Regions from separate parts of the Homo sapiens genome. Here regions 1, 2 and 4 are each linked to region 3. The links are contacts of gene promoters, found by promoter capture Hi-C in human tissues and cell types (Jung and others, 2019). All regions are on one chromosome and are shown on one strand. Each heading gives the region's core, a stretch centred on a gene start or on the middle of the fragment in contact. The rest is flanking DNA. Distances are from core to core; before and after follow the strand shown. Region 1 has its middle 8.5 kb from the start of LINC00844. Region 2 has its middle 41 kb from the start of LINC00844. Region 3 holds the start of FAM13C (family with sequence similarity 13 member C). Region 4 has its middle 84 kb from the start of SLC16A9.

Region 1 (3,144 bases), core at 284-2,783, 350 kb after region 3:
AATGAGGTAACACATGTATAATAAAATGCTTGGCACATAGGATGTGCTCAATATACTTGAAGTGTTATTTTAAAAAACTTACTGAAAGTTTCTGCCTATACTTCGGGGGGGATTTCATTTTGTTATAAAGACTTTAATTTCAGGCTTTTTTTTTAACTCTTATGCAAAGTTCACTGAGGAACAGCTACCTCATTCAGTTATATATATTTGGTTATATATTAAGCAGCACAAAGAAACACAAAAATCAAGGATGAGTCAAGTCCAATTAAGCTAAGGAAGTCAGTTTCATCTTTATCAATGGGTTGCAATACTGTATTGCTGTTCCCCTATTTCCCTTATATACAAATCTTCCCACGTGCTTCTTTTTCTGGGATGTTGGAATGATGTACGATGAAGGTTTCTCAAGTACTAGTGAGACTGAAGTAATTTTCTACATAATGTACCACAAACAGATTTAGAAATGTCGATTTTAGATGCTATGATGCATACTCAAATTTTCCATGCAGCAGGTTAGATAGTAGCATGACTAAGTTGAAGGGCCAGTGATCTCAAATGTCTCATTGGTGTTTCATATACTGAAATATTAACAAAGTAGAAAATCAAAATGAGAGCAATTTAGGGATTCTCATGTCCCCTGATTACAGGCTAATTTCTATGGGTCCAATTTCAGACAAAGAAAAGAGTGATAATGGAAAGGAACACAGCCGGGAAAACAAGAATGACAAAAAGCACAGAAAAAAGGGAATTGAAGCGAAATCACAGGGTCATCATCAAAAGACCCCATCTCCACAAAACAACACTATTACAATCCTCCCTCTTCTCAGAATCCTCAGCTGGGCTACTGGGCTGCTCTATCAAAAAATTGGCAACCCCTGTATACTGCAGTGCATCAAGCACTGTTTATTGCCAGTTGAAAAGAAAGCTTGTTTGCATTTTAGAACACTCTGGTCTGAGATGACTTTTCAGTGCTGCCTGGGAGCCAAGTTCCCCAGGAGAATCACAGGGTCTCTTCTGATCCCCACCTTTTCTTGGACATGCTCGGCAGCTGAGACTGCCTTGTGCCTAAAAGTCAGCTGGTTTGCAAGAGAAAATGTCCAGAAAATGTCCTGCTACACACTGGGAGGGTCCATAAGAAAGTAAGGCTGGGGCAGTTCTGCTGTGAGAGGGCGGAATGTGGAAAGAAACAATGCAAAGATGTTGGTAAATTCCACTGAAGGCTGAGGGACAAAAGAACAACTTTGTATTAATTAGGTTTTTGTTTGTTTTTGTTTTTTGAGACACGGTCTCACTCTGTCACCCAGGCTGGAGTGCAGTGGCGCAATCTCAGCTCACTGCAACCTCTGCCTCTCAGGCTCAAGCAATTCTCCTGCCTCGGCCTCCCAAGTAACTGAGACCATAGGCACATGCCACCACACCTGGCTAATTTTTGTATTTTTAGTAGAGACGGGTTTCGCCATGTTGCCTAGGCTGGTCTCGAACTCCTGACCACAGGATCCACCTGCCTCCGCCTCCCAAAGTGCTGGGATTAAAAGTGTGAGCCACCGCGCATGGCCAGTTAGGCTTTTTTAATGGTGCCAGTAACAACACCCCAACTCAAACCTGTAAGCAACAAACGAAATTTGATTGACTCACATAACTCAAAAGTTAGACTCAGGAATATTTAGATCAGATGTTCAATGGTTTCTTTGGACTCTCTCTATTTGCTGGGCAGCTGTCCCCTGTGCTGACTTATTCTTAGGCAGGCTCTCCCCAGTGATGGCGAAAGTGATCACAAGCCAAACTTACTTTTAACCAGTTTCAAAACCTCATCTGGAGGAGTTCACTTCCTTCCCAATAATTCAAGCAGCAATTTGGGGACTAGCTCTGGGCCATGTGCCTAGTATGGGTATGGACAATTCTCTAAAGGAAAATTGAGGTCCTGTTACCAGAAGAAGGAGAGATGGACTTGGGACTGTTGAAAACCAACTAAACAACTTACCCACTGGGCTTTTTGGATACTCCATTTTAATTATTAACTAGAAGCAGAAGTTGCACAATTGAAGATAGCCCTTTATTTATCTCTTTACACATTGACTCATAATCATCTATGATTTCTCCTCAGGAAAATATCAAAGACTATGATACACTAGGGCACCTGAGTGTCATGCCATTTTGAAGCTTAGACAGAATACCAATAGAAATGACAAGTTCTTCCTGTGAGTTTGCTGACACAGGGTTCTTTAACACCCATGCTAAATTAAGCAGCTAAATCAAGAGCTACCTCCCATAGCTCCAAGGTAAAGCAAGGATGCGTCAGCCAATTTTCTGACAGAAATTGATAGCTTTTGTGTGCGTGTGTGTGTGTGTGTGTAAGTGCCTTCATATTTCCGACCCCTTCCATGTTTCTTTCCATTTTGCTGACCACAAGGAACCATCATTATTTACATTAGCAATTCCCAATTGTTTTTAAAAAGTGAGAATTCCTTTCTAAGAATTCATAAATGTCTCATGATAGTAGTAAAATCTCTTGCCTATATTTACATATTGAATAAGAAAATACATACTGTCAAATAAATTTAATGTTATTAAAACCATTTGTGTCATATTGATTACAACACCTACTTACATGTGAAAAATGAATAGTATATGTATGTATAAGATGTATTATTGTTTTCCATCTATGTAGGGATATGTAGATGTCTTGCAATAATTACATAAACCTTTTCTGTAACAAGGTCAAGGAATTGGGGTCAGGTGACAGAATGATTCTTTTGTAGCTCCAGTGTTTGTTTTAACCCAGAAGGCCAAGGTCTCCAGATGTTAGGTCACAGCCCTGCATTCTGCCTCTTTTTTTTGCTCTGTTTCCATGTCCTTCAAATAACTAACTCAAGCTCAAATTTTAACAGAAATTGAACTGACCAGCAGCCAAGGGAGTTGACACGTGATTTATGAGTCAGGAGACTTGAAGATGGTGACTTAACACAGCTTCCAGATGCTGAAAACGAAAGTGACTCAAGACATACACTCCAGGTTGAAGGCATATGCCAAAAAGAGAAAAGTGGGAAGTGTGATTTAGGGCCTATCTTCCAAAGGGTAATGATGAATCTCCTCAGAGGCATAGCATTTCACTTTCAATCAGGATACAAAGATAGCAGGAAACATTTA
Region 2 (3,024 bases), core at 360-2,859, 400 kb after region 3:
GTGATAGAAATCAGATCAGTGGTTGCTTCTGGGAGTAAAGAGGAGTTGACTGGAAAGGTGTATGAGGGAATCTTCTGGGATGATGGAGATGCCCTTTGGCTTGATAGGGGCATGGATTATACAAGTATATTCATTGGTTAAAACTGATTGAACCATACACTCATAATTGGTATATTTCACTGTATGTGAATATCTAAAAATCTGTTTAAAAATTGTATCAATGTTAAATTCTTTGGATATAATAACAATATTGTAGTTAGGAGATATGCCCTAAAATATTGATGGGTGAAGCATTATAATGCCTGAAATTTATTTTAAATGGCTCTGGAGGAAAGAAGCAGATATAAAGAGAGAAAAAGCATGTGAGGCAACATTTAATAATTGGTATATCTAGGGGAAGGATAGTAGCTTTTATAAGCTTTTCTGTAGATCTGAAAATTTTCAAAGTAAGAGAAGGGAAAAAATCATCAAAACAGTACAAACAAAAACAAAAACAAAACTATTCTCTTAGCTATCATTTCCTCAATAAGAGGAATGGGAAATTTAAATCAATACTACATTCTACTTACTCTGTCACATGTAAGAATGTCCAGTTCCGCCATAGATTCCTTATTATAAAATGTGTTTAGCTGTTCATTTCATTCTTTTGAAAGGGCAAAAAAAAATTAAAAATTATCTCAGAAGAACACTGGTCAAAGGTAGCAACTTGCTGGGCTACTGCTTTGACTTAACCAGGTCCCATCTAACATTTACTGGAAATACATAAACTTCCACTTACCTAAAATTTGCACTACTTTTAAAATCTTTTCAACTGCCTGGAAATACCTATTTCCCAAGGCTTCTGCACAAGCTAATTGGTAGCTCAAATGATTTGCCAAATGATCAACATTTGATCTGATTTGCATTCCAGGATGATCAAGCATAAACTGGGTCTGGAAGCTTCATTGATAGAGTGCCTGCCATAAATGTCACAGGTGAGAAAGGGCAAGTGCCTGGCCTGTTCTTGGATAACTTCCCATGGAGGCAAAAGGCAGAGCAGCTTTAACTCACTGTGTAGATTATACTGTCTCTCAGGATGTCAGAGGGGTGAGAAAGCAAAGATGTGAATTTATAACGTAAATGTGTGAAAAGAAAAGGGTATGCCAGGTTCAAGAGAGATTTACTACGAAGATTTGTTTTAGAGGAAGTGCATTCAGAAATTGCGGGCACCAAATTTTGGTACTCTTGGCTCAAAAGGCAATAGGGAAACAACATTTTTCGGTTACATGGTGTACATGGCAGATAAAAAGTAGGGGTACCAGATGAAGTTTCTGTCAAGGAATTAGCAAGATAGTTAAGGAGGCTGCAGGAAAGTTTTGGGATATCAGGCAAACATCTTCTGGAAAAACACTATAAGAACAACCCTGAATGGTTGGCTAATAATGAGAAAAAGTTAGTTATTTCCTGAACTACCTTCTGCTTCTGGGTAACAGTAGTGGAAAGAGGATGTCTGACACCTTAAGGATGGTGTAAAAATTGTGTTTTTCCATGAAGATGGTGATTCTCTTAGAAAACCTAGAGGCACAGCTGATTTCATGCACAGGTTGAACAGGTAACCACCAGGGCATGGATTTTTAAGAATGCTTAAGAATTCTCCATCCTTGGCTTTAGATTTCCACTACAGCATCACTCCTATGGATTACTAACAATGCATTGAATTTATAAAGTGCTTTAAGTTTATCAAGCACTTTCACATACCCTTCCACATCTGGACCTCACTACTCTGTAAGGTATAAACAGTGGGGATTTAAACCTGTTTTATAATGAGGATCTTAAAGCTTAAAGCCCAAGGTCACATAGCCAAGACTCAAGTTCTATCTTCCAATTCCTCTTTCCATTATGCTGCTTGATAGACAGGCAGGTACAATGGCTAGGTAGGGAAGGTTGGCTCTGGTGTGCCTTGTAGACTCCCCTCAGCATGGTAACTTGGACAGGTTTAGCAGATTAGATAGCTAGAGACTTACTGGCAAAAAAAAAAAAAAAAAAATCTGTTCTTAAAGGACAAAGGGAAAAAGGATGTATATTTTCTATGGAAGTATCTATTTATTTTGGCCAGAAGAGGAAGATCAGGCATGGGTAGGGAATTCTGATCGGCACATGAGGTCTAGAATTGTGTGTGTATGAAGCACATGGACCAAAAAAAAGTAACCTGAGACTATGACCAATCTTGGAGAAAGGACTGTATCCAGCAGGTGACACCAAAGGCTAAGTGTCCATTATATCTTTCAGCCAAGGGTAATCTGAGGATAGCATTTTACTGTTTCTTCTCAAGGGAATTGACTTTCCTAAAAGAATACATTTCAGCAGGCTAAGAAATTCCTGGGCATTCAAGTAGATAGTTATTTCTTTATTCACCTTGCTTCTCCTGCTTGCTTTAATATGCAGTGTAGAGGAAATTAGATCTCACTGGTAATTAGAGGTGGGTTCAACTCACTGCCCTGGTAGGTCTGTGCCACAGCTCCCACGTGACCTTCAGCTGTTCTGAGTTTGCTTCAGTTATCTGGGAACTGAGGGAGACTTCTTAAAATAAGTGTCTCCTAGCACTAACATTTTCTGCTTCAGTGGAACGAGATGTAGAAAATGGTTCTCCTTGGTCCCTTCTGTAGCCGGCCTTTTGAAGTCATCTAGCAGATACACATGCTCCCATTTTGTCTATCTAGAAGCTCCTGGGCATGTGCAGAGGAAATTCCATTGTCCTGATGATCACAGTTCCACTGGGAAAGTGTTGTGATCTTCATTGATCTTCATTTCTACTGCTTCTTTCCCTTCCCCTCAGCATTCCAGTGACAATAGTCACTGCTCTGAAATTCATTATTCTTCAGATAGCCAAAGAACCCTTTAGGCTCCTTTCTGGAATCTTTCCTTGGACCTCTTGGAAGCTGTGATCTGGCCTTAGTAACATGAGATATACCAGAGATTTTTTTCACTACTACTACTTTGTGTGTTAGTTGGCTAATCATTCACTTTCTATACAGAATGGAAACA
Region 3 (3,193 bases), core at 81-2,580:
CGATTATCTTTTTCTCTGAACAGGCTGAATAAAATGTGCAAGTGACCACAGAACTTCACTGTGGCTGGAATCTAATCAATAGTGAAGAGCAAAGCCAAACACAACTGGAGAATTAACTGGCCCCTGGGTGGACTTGTTAACCGATGTCTCAGTTTGACATTGAAAGGTCATGCTCTTCCCCATTATTTCCAAGTTTTGGTAAAGTTTTTAATTGCCCAATTAGAAAAATTATGAGTTTTTTGTTGTTATGTTAACTCATTAACTTACATAGGTTTGGACTAAAAACCACTATCCTAGCTGCTTCTGGGAGTAGAAAGATTAAAAAGGGGGATGGGAATCTTATTTCAAAATTCAAATAAAATAATTCAAATTCAAATAAGAATCTTTAATAGATGCTACATCCCATATCCAGGTCAACATGGCAGGAGAAATGAACAATACAAAGAGGGCAGAACAAATATCCCCAAGGGAAAGAAGCCAGTGGGGGGACTGACAGTCTTTCCTTTCCCTAACAAGGCTGCCTTTATTCAAAGGGATAGCGTTTGCGGATTCCGTCTCTCCATCCTTTGTAAAGGTGCTAGCTAGGGAGCTGAGCTCAAGCGGGCTGCTCTAGGCATAGCAAGCCCCACCCCTTGCACGGTGTCCTAATCACCAGCTAACCCCTGGAATAAATTCTCCACTCGCCCTGCGTGGGTTCATTCACAGCTCTGTAGTCCGGGGCTGGGCGCTTCCTCTCTGGGACTGAAATAAGAGCGCTCTAGACAGATCAGGTGTGATGCAGCCAGCCCTGCTTTAGAGCCTATTCTTTTTCCTAGGCAACAAAAAACACACACACAAAATAAAACACCAAACAGCAGCAATATCCCCCTCCCCCTTCTTGTTCTCTCCTGACTTTTTCTGAACGATGGATGAATCTCTGCGAGCCTCCATCCCTGGGGGTGGGGTGGGAGTGTGGGGGGTTGGGGTGAGCTCTGTAAAATTGGTAGGAGACATGTGGAAGAAAGCAAGTCTCCCGGGTATTTCAGCACTTCGGCAGAAACACTGGGGCATTCTCATTGCCAGCCTCGGGGGGTGGCTGGCACAAAGAGCCCAAGATTAAACGCGGCGCCTGGGCTGGCGAGGTCGGGGTCGTGTGGTAACTCTCCAGGTGCTCCTCGCTGGATCCCGGGGTCCCAGCCCCGCCGCCGCGCCCCGCCCAGCTCTGTCCCCGCAGCCTCGCGGGCTGCCGGGCTTTGTGGTTCGCCCGTGCCGCTGGGCCCCTGCTGGGGGTGTCGTTACGAGCATGTGCAGACAGCAGCCCAAGGTAGAGCGAGCGTGCCGGGCGAGCCCGGAGACTTGCCTTGCAATGCCATGTTTGTGTATGTGCTCTAACTCCCGGAGAGCAATCAGGGAGACGGCTCCCCGGCCAGACTTGGCTGATGTTTTCTTGTTTCTGTTTCAGCCTTCAGGATAATTCCTTCAGCAGCACCACTGTAACAGAGTAAGTGATTCTTACCATTAAAATTAGACTTGCATGCCTTTCTCTGGAAGCAACTATCGTGAAGGTATCCTCCACCGTTCCCAGCCGCTGTTCGTTTTAGATGCATTGTCTCCCGGAATCTGGGGCTGTGAAGACCGTGAGACGTGCTGACTGGTGGGGCCCAGAAATCTTTACAGGTTGAAACCAGCATTTTAGCAGCTGCGGGAGAGAAATTAAAACCAGCTGATTGCTTGCAGGAGCTCAGTGCTCCAAGATATGTGTTCTTGGAGCTCAGATTTTTAAAAATCCATTTGATGTGTTAGGAAGCTTTGTTGTATTTTGCCAACATTGGTGTCAGTTTTCATGGAGTGCACACTATATACATTTACAGCAATAGAAGATAGATGTGAAATGAGCTGAATTCCAGCATGTGGTAAACAGGCTAAACTTATCTTGGCCCTCTCTTGTCTACAGATTTTTAAGGCATATCAGAGTAAACTTTTTGTGCATGCCCTTTGTCATGTTTGTCTTCTGACTACAGAGATGTGACTATGGGACGAATGAGTCACCTAGTCCTATGGTTAAAGCTGTTGATTAGGGCAACTAACACCCTTCAAACATGGAATGAAGGAGTGTGAATGAAGGAGCGTACCAGCAAGCACAGTATTTTTTTAAAGATATTTATATGCTATAGTTTTAATTTTTGACATCCCTTCCTTAATGTTTTCCTAATATTATACTATATTTGTTAAAAATTAACAGGTAGTGTATTTTGCTAATACTGTATGTAATTTATATATACATATATATATATGAATATGTACTTCATCTAGCATTCTTTCTCTAGGCTAATTCATGATGTTTACTTCTGGGACCTTTGTAGAAGCCACTCTAAACATCTTTTCAGGAAAAAGGCATGTGTAAAGTTGTATCCTCAACTACATTTAAAAAATGTTATGAGTTTGATGTAGAAGGCTTAACTAACTGGGGAGCTGTTTGCTAAAATTCCCTAAAAAGCAAATAAATGTTTTGCTTTTGGCTTCCAAGTCCTGCCACTATCACAATGACTTGGTGAGGGAGGGATAAGGTTTACAGTGCTTCCTAGGCCCTCTTGTTTTCCACATTCTTTTGTTTCTCTCTTTTGCTGTGCTGCTCCTTTAGTGTCCAGTTTTGAGCAGACTTAAGTGGAGTCACTTAAAAAAAAAAACAGGATTGACTTTAGAAGAAGCAATGTAAAATACTCATTTGGACCCACATTCTGTTTATAAGATTGCTTGGTAACCTGTGCTGCAATGTTGCTTTTCTAAAGGCCTGAGAGAAGGGGAGAGAGGTGTGCCAAAGTGTGCATCTGCAGGCCGAAGATGAGGCCTGGACTTCCTGCTCCAGGTGCACAGGTACTGCTCTCCTCCCTTTGCTGTGCTTAAAGTACTAAGTGCTTTCTGGCCCCGATTCTCAGGAGCCTGGTGTGGCCAAATCCTCGGTCAGTCACAGGCACGGCAGGTTCAAAATGGAGACACTTAGCTCCAGATTTCACGTGGACTTTTTTTTTTTTTTTTTTTTTTTTTTCTGTAGAGGTTTCGTGGTTAAATGCTGGGGAGAGCCTGGTGCCTTGTCTTTGGACACTCCCCAAGGAGTTCTGATTGCATAAGATCATGTTTTTACTTTCAGAGGAGTGACAGTGATTTATTTTAAAAGGCACTGAGAGATAATTGGTATGCCATTTGGCTAATATAA
Region 4 (3,038 bases), core at 146-2,645, 260 kb before region 3:
TTAGGATACAAGTTGAGAAATGTCATGGCAGAGATAAGTGCAAACTTCATAGGTGTGAGTGATATTTGAAATAGTTGACAACTGGCCAGGTGCGGTGGCTCATGCCTGTAATCCCACAGCACAGGGAGGCTGACGTGGGAGGATTGCTAGAGCCCAGGAGTTTGAGATCAGCCTGGGCAACATGGTGAAACCTCGTCTCTACAAAAATTACAAAAATTAGCTGGGCGTGGTGGCTCATGCCTGTAGTCCCAGATACTCAGGAGGCTGAGGTGGGAGGATTGCTTGAGCCTGGGGGGTGGAAATAGCACCACTGCACTCGCTCCAGCCTGGGTGACAGAGTGAGTTAGACCCTGTCTCAAAAAAAGCAACAACAACAAATACCAAATATTTAACAATTGTTAGAGTCACTGCAAAGGCTGTTTCTTACCCACAGCCAGGGCAGTGTGACTAAGACATGCCAGATGGGAATAGGGCATTCTCTTTTGGGTCCAGGCCCATCCTGGGAGTGGTGGGATGGATGTGAGGGAATGAGGGGCCTCCGTCAAGCTGGCTGGGTGGCAGGCGCTGCACGGCTCTGAGGGATTGAGCAGCCGAGGCAGTGGGACATAGTAAGGGGCTGAGGCCCAGGGCAGTGTAAGCATCCCATTGGTGTGGAAGTATTTCCATATTTTACCAATGATATGCTCTTTGAGAAGCAATATCCCATGGAAATATAATGAGAGCAATATCTATGTAATGAAACATACTTAGGAGACAAAGAATAAAAGTAAAAAGAAACAAGGGAAATTAAATTTGGCATTTGTCTTACTCAGTAGGTCCAAAATGTTATCTCAACATGTAACTAATATCCAACTGATTAATGAGCGATTTCACTCTTTTTGTTGTTGCTGAAATCCAGTGTGTATTTTCAGTTTAGAGCCTGCCACCTGTGGTTACCGTATTGCACAACACAGGTCTAGTAGGAAGGATTGTGAGAAAAGCAGCCCTCTGTGCTCCCTGGATTTTGGGGGAGGTGACCTTCCAGTTGCCTGGAATTTTCTGCAGGATCTGTCTGTGGTTTTCTTCTTTGATTAGCCCACCTGTAAACCCACGCAGCCCTTAACAGGTGCAGAATTTACAATGAGACACAGTAGCTCTTTCAGCACTGAGCTCCATTACACTAATTATCTGGCCTATGGCTTAGTGCTGCCTTCATTACCAAACCAAAGGCTTAATTGCTCTTTTAAGCTCCTTTGAATTTTTAGACTCAATTTACCTGCAGCCTCCTGAAACTCAGGCACCCGAATTTACTAAGGATAAGTGGGGATTTGCTGTGTGCTGAGGCCTTGTTAGGCCCTCCTAGACTTGCATTTTCTTTTTTATTCAGCGAAGTGAGATAATGGTCTTTTCTTTCCTTTTGCCTTCCTCACAGTTGGTGACACCTGCAGGCTGAAGCAGCATTTTCTGTACTTTGGCACCACCTTGTGGTTCAGCTGAAAAAAGTCTAGAAATGGGCCGCATCCATCTTGGGCTCATTGAGCATCATGAACAGTCTTGAAGGGCCATCTGGCTTTTGTTATCTCCTTCAGCCTGAGAAGAAATGAGATTTGTTACTGGATAGGGAATGTCTCCTATAGGCTAAACCGCCTGCTGAGAAATCCAACGAGGTAATGGCTCCAATTTGAACTAAGCAGAGAGTCATGCAGAAACATCAATCCAGGCTGCCGCTGTTCTCTATTATTTAGATTGAATTGTGTCTACTTTCCACAGATGACTCGGCTCAGCCAGAGAACTTGGCATCTCTGTGTGCTGTTACTGTAAAATGGGGAGTGATTGTTTTCAGCTGCTCCAAGTTAGGAATTAGCTCCTGGCCATTGATAATACCTCCTGGAAACCGTGCTCACTTCATTGGATCCACAACCCCATCTGCAGCTGAATTTTATCAACAGACATGTTGCTTTGGCCAGCATTGGTTGAATATAGTGTTAGAAAACGGACAGATTGTACAGAGGTTTTGCCAAGATCCGTGTCCCAGTAATTTTTACTGTGAGTAACTTTATGCACTTCCCTGTTATTCTACACCTGTACTCCTTAATTCCCTTATCATTTGTTCCTGCGCCAAAGGTGTGTGAGTTTGCAATTTGCTTACTGGTATGGAGAGGCTGTTTGATTTGCTTGTGGTCACTGGCAGATTCTTTTTTTTTTTTTAATTTTTATTTTAGGTATGGGGTACCTGCGAAAGTTTGTTACGTAGATAAACACGTGTGTCACGGTGGTTTGTTGTACATATTAATACATCACCCTGGTACTAAGCTCAGTACCCAATAGTTCCCTTTTCTGCTCCTCTCCCTCCCTCCCCACTCAATAACACCCCAGTGTCTGTTGTTTCCTTCTTTGTGTTCATGAGTTCTTCTTATTTACCTCCCACCCATATGTGAGAACACACGGTATTTGGTTTTCTATTCCTGCTTGCTAAGGATGATAGCCTCCAGCTCTATCCTGTTCCCACAAAAGACATGATCTCATTTTTCATGGCTGCATAATATTCCACAGTGTATATGAACCACGTTTTCTTGTCTGTCACTGATGAACATTTAGGTTGATTCCATGTCTTTGTTATTGTGAATAGTGCTGCGGCGAACATTCGCGTGCATGTGTCTTTATGGCAGAATGCTTTATATTCCTCTGGGTATATACCCGGTAATGGGATTGCTGGGTCGAGTGGCAGTTCTGCTTTTAGCTCTTTGAGGAATCACCATACTGCTTTCCACAGTGGTTGAACTAATTTACACTCCCACCAACAGTTGACTAACTTACCACCGTTAACAATTGACTACTTTATCTTGCAATTTCCTACTTAAAATATGTCATCAGATTTTTGCCAAGAGGTGCTTGTACTCAGAGTGATGAATAAAATCAATATCTTGAGTCCCTGAGTCTCCAAGTGTCAGAAACTTAAGAGACCTGTGTAAGACCTGTGTAACTATTGTTAAACCAGTTAAAATCCAAGGTTTACCCTTCTTTCACTGTGTAACTTGGGCAGAATGTCTATTGGTGAG

What was found. The method cuts DNA at HindIII sites, captures the fragments that hold promoters and counts their contacts. A contact is called where the count stands out against the background at its distance.
Region 1: a contact is called between a fragment that was not itself captured here and the fragment with the promoter of FAM13C in region 3, in 2 of the 25 tissues and cell types used here (dorsolateral prefrontal cortex and hippocampus).
Region 2: a contact is called between a fragment that was not itself captured here and the fragment with the promoter of FAM13C in region 3, in 2 of the 25 tissues and cell types used here (dorsolateral prefrontal cortex and hippocampus).
Region 4: a contact is called between a fragment that was not itself captured here and the fragment with the promoter of FAM13C in region 3, in 3 of the 25 tissues and cell types used here (aorta, dorsolateral prefrontal cortex and mesenchymal stem cells).

Annotation. Positions count from the first base shown.
Region 1 is chr10:59,006,460-59,009,603 of GRCh38, reverse strand. No RefSeq gene overlaps it. Among named protein-coding and RNA genes, the nearest start is that of LINC00844, 8.5 kb to the right of the region's middle. The HindIII fragment of the contact is 3,534 bases long and covers 1-3,144 here.
Region 2 is chr10:58,956,882-58,959,905 of GRCh38, reverse strand. No RefSeq gene overlaps it. Among named protein-coding and RNA genes, the nearest start is that of LINC00844, 41 kb to the left of the region's middle. The HindIII fragment of the contact is 3,591 bases long and covers 1-3,024 here.
Region 3 is chr10:59,360,686-59,363,878 of GRCh38, reverse strand. It overlaps FAM13C (family with sequence similarity 13 member C), which reads left to right and starts at 1,330. Exons shown (of 14, transcript NM_198215.4): 1 at 1,330-1,480. The coding sequence starts at 1,419. It overlaps LOC124902428 (a long non-coding RNA gene), which reads right to left and starts at 1,980. Exons shown (of 2, transcript XR_007062148.1): 1 at 1,496-1,980; 2 at 365-811. The HindIII fragment of the contact is 7,624 bases long and covers 1-2,507 here.
Region 4 is chr10:59,624,619-59,627,656 of GRCh38, reverse strand. No RefSeq gene overlaps it. Among named protein-coding and RNA genes, the nearest start is that of SLC16A9, 84 kb to the left of the region's middle. RefSeq lists an enhancer at 1,160-1,379. The HindIII fragment of the contact is 9,708 bases long and covers 1-3,038 here.